2 separate regions of the Homo sapiens genome follow, and region 2 is linked to region 1. Evidence: promoter capture Hi-C in human tissues and cell types (Jung and others, 2019). All regions are on one chromosome and are shown on one strand. Each heading gives the region's core, a stretch centred on a gene start or on the middle of the fragment in contact. The rest is flanking DNA. Distances are from core to core; before and after follow the strand shown.

Region 1 (3,540 bases), core at 1,041-3,540:
AAAGAGTTGATTTGTTGTCATGAACCTAGATAACGGAGACACACTAAGTGATCAAAAAACACCTTGCACAACTATACTAAAGATTCAATTGAAGAACAGAAGCAAAGCTATCCATTTCTGCATAACTATTTATGTAAATGCCTGAAAAACTCAAAAAAGACGCATGCTAATCTGAAGATCAGAGGTTAGTGAGTGAAGGGACACTTGGCCTTTTGTTCCCTTTACTTTTAAAATATTGGAATGCTTTAAATTTAAAACTTTTCGTGTATTACTTAACAATAATTATTATGAGTTACAATAGTGACGGGAACATATTAGCTGCTCAGTAAATACTAACTCCTCAACAGTTTCTTCCAAAACAAAGGAGCATGAGGCCTGCAGCCATAATCCCTCTTGCTGTGGGTCTGGGAATGGCCTCTGAGAACAAGATCTGCAGAGGGAGGTGGGGAGGGATGTAAAGGAAACAAGAGAACAGAGATCTGTGCAGCCGGCCATGCTTCACCCCTGCCTGGATCTTGCACCCACCCAGAGTAAACAATGCATTTCACCACATCTTTTGCTCCTCGAAACTGCTCTTTATGTTGCTATAGAGGGGGTATCATTTTTATTATCATTTTCCCTGAGTTAACAATTTCTCTGCTGTCCTTAGAATGAGACATAAGTTTTTCTTCTTCATAAAGGATATATTTTTTTTCCTGATTATAGTCAATATTGCAAATGAAAAAAAGCATAAAGGAATACAAGTTTAAGTAGTGGTTCATGCCTGTAATCCTTGCAATTTGGGAAGTTGAGATGGGAGGATCCCTGGAGCCCAGGAATTCAAGACCAGCCTGGTCAACATAATGAAACCCCATCTCTACAAATCAATCAATAAATAAAATAAAATATCTATAGTAGTAGTCATATACTTTGGTAGTGAAAAGGTAAATATTTCTGGAAGTATTTTGACCATATATATATAAAGGGCCTTAAAAAAAGTTATATGCTTTGCTAAGGAATGGCTATTAAAAGAAAAAAAAAAGGTGTGTGCTTTGACCCAAATGTTCCACTTGTAGGAATTAGTGTTGCAGAAAAAAGAAAATCAGGAACTAAGACAAAAATTTATGTTTTAGGCTGCTCAATACAGTAAAATCTACAATAGCCAAATGCAGAAAAGAGAAATAGTCCAAACTAGGGAAGTGTTTAAAAATAATTTTAAAGGCTGGGTGTGGTGGCTCACGCCTGTAATCCCAGCTCTTTGGGAGGCTGAGGTGGGCAGATCACCTGAGGTCAGGAGTTTGAGACCAGCCTAGACAATATGGCGAAACTCCGAATCTACTAAAAATACAAAAACTAGCTGGGTGTGGTGGCGTGCACCTGTAATCTCAGCTACCCAGGAGACTGAGGCAGGAGAATCACTGGAACCCAGGAAGCAGAGGCTGCAGTAAGCCGAGAACATGCCACTGCACTCCAGCCTGGGTGATAGAGCAAGACTGCATCTCAAAACAAACAAAAAAATTGTATATTCATACAATGAAATAGATTGTATCCATTGGATAGCATTCGTTAGGTTTGGGGGAAATGATGAATAAAAGGAAAAACACATACTGTTCCTAAAAGATTTTAAAACAAGGTTTAATGTATGGATCTAACATTGCTAAAATTATAAATAATTGCCCTTCATTAAAAACACGATTCCTAAAGGCTGCATGGAAATCTCTTTTATGATTGAACCATGCATTGTTTGTCTATCCCCCGCCTGTTGTATATGTATGCTGGTTCAGGTTTTTCTACATTTTTAATACTTCTGTAATGAACAAATTTACATATGAATCTATAAAGGACACCTCTTTTTAGAATCTCTTAGAATAGATGCCTTGAGTTGTCCAGAACAGATTTTAAAGATTGTTTGCCCTTTTCTGACTACAATACGTTCTTAAGAACATGCAATTAGACTATTTCTTCACCAAATCCCAAACTCTGCAGGTCTTTATTCTTTGCACTACTTCTCCCCTTTCCATGTGTCCACATGTGTGCGTGCGCACCCCCTCAGGCACACACCCCTTTCTCTGGGTGAGTACTCTCCCTGCATGCCCACTCACCACTCTCAGCGATTCAGCCCCTGTCCTCCCAGGCATTGTGAACCAGGCTCTAATCGACTTCCCCCACTCACCTCTTAGCATTCCCCTCTGAAAATCACAGCCCACAGAAGAAAGGCAGTTAATAGTTCTCCATTCTTTCTACTATGGTTAAATCTCCTTCTGGAAGAAAGGAAAAAGAAAGCAGAGACTGTCGGGTCATCGTGAGGAATAATAACAATCTCTCTTTGGAAGAATAAGTTTTTTGATTGGCTCAGAGGTGATGTTTCTCATCAGTTGCTGGGCAGAAACCACTGAGGAAGGCTGAAATGAAAACTGAAAGTACATTGAATTGTACACGTTGAAGAAAAATTCCTGCCCTACCTCCCTTACTGTTTATCTCTTTCATTCTTGTGTGTATATACGTATTTCTATATAGTCACTTGTCTTAAGTCTTTTATCATAATAGAAATATCAGCAGAACACAATGGGAAAAGATTTTAATGTGGTGAAGAGAGAAAGATGAGCACTAATTAAAATGCTACTGTGGCAGTTTGCTAACATTTGCTTGCATGAATATGGGTACATGGAGGAGGAGGAGATTTTACTACAGAGTCAAATAAACGTATGAATGGAAAGAAAACCAGACACAATGCACTTTTTTTTTGAAACGGAGTTTCACTCTGTCACCCAGGTTGGAGTGCAGTTGCAGGATCTTGGCTCACTGCAACCTTCGCCTCCCAGGTTCAAGTGATTTTCCTGCCTCAGCTCCTGAATAACTGGGATTACAGGTGCTCGCCCCATGCCCGGCTACTTTTTGTATTTTTAGTAGAGACAGGGTTTTGCCATATTGGCCAGGCTGGTCTCAAACTCCTGAGCTCAAGTGATCCTCCCTCCTCAGATCCCAAAGTGCTAGGATTACAGGCTTAAGCCACTGCACCCGGCCCACAATGCACATTTTTAAGCACCTCCAGCATCCAGGCTTAGGATCTGTTATCAAAAAATGTAATTTTTCTGGCTTCCAGAGGCAGTGCTGCTTGACACGTTTTACCTTTTTCAGCAAATTTTTAGTGCAGGTGTTTCTGAGCATCTCCATTCACCCTCAGCTCCTGTTCTGTGCTACACTGTATTTTCCTGTGTATTTGTTTCTCCTGCTGCCAGTGGAGTACATATTCTCTGAGGCCAGACTCTAGATAAACTGTGAATGCTGTCTCTGTAAGATGTCTATAAAACAAATTGGTTCTTCCTGTGGCCTAGGACCTCAAAACAGACTTTCTGGGATTGCAAGTCAATGATCGAAGTTCCTAAGGCTAAGATGTGACTGGGGCTGATGCAATTTAATTATATTGTAAATGTTTGAATTTAGACTGTGTAGTATCTGATTGAGATGGCTGGTCCCTTCTGCATCATGCATTCCCCCTTTCTTCTTGGTGATAAGGCCTAATTTTCTTAGGTACTACAACGTTCTTTTCCATCTGGTAGA
Region 2 (3,540 bases), core at 468-2,967, 48 kb after region 1:
CAAATAGCAATTGATTTCTTGCTCACATACATGTCAATGTAGTTGTTTCCTCTTGGCAGGCAGTTTTCACAGGTGTGACTTCTTTCTGCAGAACTGTTCTCCAAGTGGCCAGGCACTGACCCAGTTCTCCTCCATTTCTTGCTTGTAGTCTGAAGAACAACTGTAGAGTGTGTGGGAATGCCCATATCCTGAGGCAGGGAGGAACTGCCTGAAACAGCCTGGGCCTGGCTCCTGGCTCTCCTAAAGAATGTAACATATTGAATTAAGGAGGAACTGCTAGGACAACCAGAGCCTTGTTCCTCTCTCCCTGAAAGTAGGATGAGATTTACCCAGTGATTCCTGTGGCCCCTGAGGTACTGAGCCTGGGGTAAGCTGCTTTTGGGGCCCCTCAGCTGCAACAACAGTAGGCCATGTGCAATTGAAGCTCCATCCACCCAAGGCAGCTTTCATAAGCCTTGGGAAACTGGCACATAATGAATTCTAGTCTTCTGTTGTCTCTTGCTTCCTATCTGTAAGTAATACATTTGCTTCATGTAACTTGTTGCATGTGAGTGTCTTCTGTCTCACCAGGCTCAGGCAGGTTCACAAAATTCACCAGTGCATGGTGAATCTGGTTCACAAAATTGGTGAAGTGAGCAGGGCCCTCTTTGATAGAACCATGGCTTATTGATGAAGTGGAAGGAATGATACCCCGAAGTACCCAGCCCAGGGTGTAGACATCAACCTAGAGGTGTGCAGGAGCTGGACAAGCAGCCAGATGATTTATAAAAGGAAGAATGAGAGGTGAGATTATAAGCCAACAATAAAATTTGAAGGCCTTCTCACCATCTGAATGGACCTTTCCTCTTGGCCAGGGCATTCCAAAGTTTACCTGATTATCTGGTTCAGGTCATGACAGGAAAGAAGGGCCAATTATACCCCACTCAAGTTTGGCTTTCAGGAAAAGCTGACCAGCATTAACATCAACACATACCTCAAGTCTGACAAGAAATATTTACAATCTATTCTCTCTGAAGCCTGCTACCTGAAGGCTTCATCTGCATAATAAAGCTTTGTTCTCCACAACCCCTTATCATTATAACCCAGACATTCCTTCCTATTGATAATAACTCTTTCAACCAGTTGCCAATCACAAAATTTTAAATCTACCTATAACCAGGAAGCCACACCCTCACCCCACCACCCTTTCTCAGCTTCGAGTTGTCCTGCCTTTCCAGACCCAACCAATGAATTTTTTACATGTGTTTGATTGATGTCTCATGCCTCCCTAAACTCTATAAAACCTGGCTGTGCCCCGATCACCTTGGGCACATGTTTTCAGGATCTCCTGAGGGCTGTGTCACAGGCCATTGGTCACTCATATTTGGCTGAGAATAAATCTCTTCAAATGTTTTACAGTTTGACTCTTTTTGTAAACAGGACATAGGTCACCCCCAACCCTGCGGATATGAGTGAGCTGGCTGCACTGACTGGGGCAGAGAGAAAGAAATATAGAATAGGACAGTGGCAAGCCACCCTCTGATTGTTGGACACTTGTATGGTTGTTCATTCCCGAGAGCTAGAGAACTCAGGAAATGGATACTCAGTTGATCCCTGAGAACCCTGAGAGGGAAGAGGAAGAGGTCCTCTGGTGGTCCCTGAGGCATCTGAGAGGGAACCAAACACAGTTCATAAGGGCATTTACAGAGCAGAAACTCATTATCCAAAGAATAAAAATGGAGAATAGCCAGCTAAATCTTGTGCAGGCTGGGTGGTGTGTCCAGCTTCCGCACCCCTGTAGGTTGATGTCTACACCGTGGGCTGGGTACTTCGGGTATCACTCCTTCCACTTCATCAATAAGCCATGGTTCTATCAAAGAGGTTCTATCAAATCCAAATGTCTCAGGCTGAATGGCCCAGTTGGGAATGGGGCCACGGTCTCTGGTTTCCTCCCCACTGGAGGTCAGTCACTCTATATTCCTGTCAAGATAAAACAGGAGTTCTTATAATAAGCCAGGAACAGAAAGACAAACTTTGGATGTTCTCAGTTATTTGCAGGATCTAAAAATCAAAACAATTGAACTCATGGAGATAAGAGAATATAAGGATGGTTACCAGAGGCTTGGAAGGGTAGTGGAAGTGGGAGGAAGCGGGAGAGGAGGTGGGGATGGTTAATGAAAAAGGGCCGGATGTGGTGGCTCGTGCCTGTAATCCCAATACTTTGAGAGGCTGAGGCGGGTGGATCACCTGAGGTCAGTAGTTGAAGATCAGCCTGGCCAACATGGTGAAACCCTGTCTCTTCTAAAAATACAAAAGTTAGCCAGGCATGGTGGTGTGTGCCTATAATCCCAGCTACTCAGGAGGCTGAGACAGGAGAATCACTTGAACCCGGGAGGCGCAGGTTGCAGTGAGCCGAGACCATGCCATTGCACTCCAGCCAGGGCAACAAGAGCAAAACTCCATCTGAAAAAAGAAAAAAACAAAAAAAAAAACAAAAAAAAACAGAAGAATGAAAAAGACCTAATGTTTGACAGCACAACAGGAAGACTATAGTCAATAATATCTTAATTGTACATTTTAAAATAACTAAGAGTATAATTGGATTGTTTTTAACACAAAGGATAAATGCTTGAAAGGATGGATACCCCATTTTCCATGATGTGATTATTACAGATTGCGTCCTGTACCAAAATGTCTCACGTACCTATTAAATATATCCACTTACTATGTGCTCATAAAATTTAAAATTTAAAAATTAAAAAAAAAAAGACATGCTTGCTTCAGCAGCACATATACTGAAATTGGAATGATATAGAGATGATTAGCATGGTCCCTGCTTTTAAAATTAATAATATTCCTTTAAAAGATAAAAAGGGGGAAAAAGGAATTCATATTTTTCTGGTGTTCTTAGATATTGGAACCCATGTGACAATATTTCCAGGTCTCCTTAAGGGAAAAATTAAACTGGTGACATTAAGAGGCTTGGGGACAAAAGCAGTGACCTATGGTGCTTATCTGCTGTGGGGTGCCTCTGGCCATTTGAGGTGCCGGTGACTTTGGTTCCTGTGGCTGAATGTCTTATAGTCATTGACATTTTGGCTGCTTGGGGCTCAGCACATCATCACTGCCTGAGGGGTGCGCCCGCTCACAGCTAAGAATTCCAGCCGTTACGGCGGGGCATATCCATGCCTGTCTGCCACCTAAGCCACCCAAGTCCCAGTGGGTTATTCAAAAAAACAGTACTGCATACTAACTGAAGAACAGGACATTATTGTGTTAATTATTGTTACAAATGGAAATGCTACAAACTACCCTGTCATAATGTAACAGCTCAGTTTGGCTAGTCAAAAAGGCTTTCGGATGTGGAGACTAACAGTGGACTGTCCCTGGGCTAAATGCGAAGGCCACATGGGCAGTAAGCCAGAAAAGTATTCTAGATACAACCAAGCAAAAAAATTTAATTTTGGAGACATCCACTAATAAAAAGGAGGCCCAACAGCTGGAAGGCCTCTTTGGGTACTTGGGCATTGGAGGCAACATGTACCCCACCTGAGTGTTCTT

The links. Contacts are between HindIII fragments. The study calls those that stand out against the background at their distance.
Region 2: a fragment that was not itself captured here is called in contact with the fragment with the promoter of BTN3A1 in region 1 in 2 of the 25 tissues and cell types used here (neural progenitor cells and small bowel).

The regions. Positions count from the first base shown.
Region 1 is chr6:26,401,025-26,404,564 of GRCh38, reverse strand. BTN3A1 (butyrophilin subfamily 3 member A1) reads right to left here and starts at 2,290. Exons shown (of 10, transcript NM_007048.6): 1 at 2,153-2,290. RefSeq lists an enhancer at 2,323-2,382. The HindIII fragment of the contact is 20,018 bases long and covers 1-3,540 here.
Region 2 is chr6:26,352,247-26,355,786 of GRCh38, reverse strand. It overlaps the pseudogene LOC124901520. Among named protein-coding and RNA genes, the nearest start is that of BTN3A2, 11 kb to the left of the region's middle. The HindIII fragment of the contact is 5,027 bases long and covers 1-3,540 here.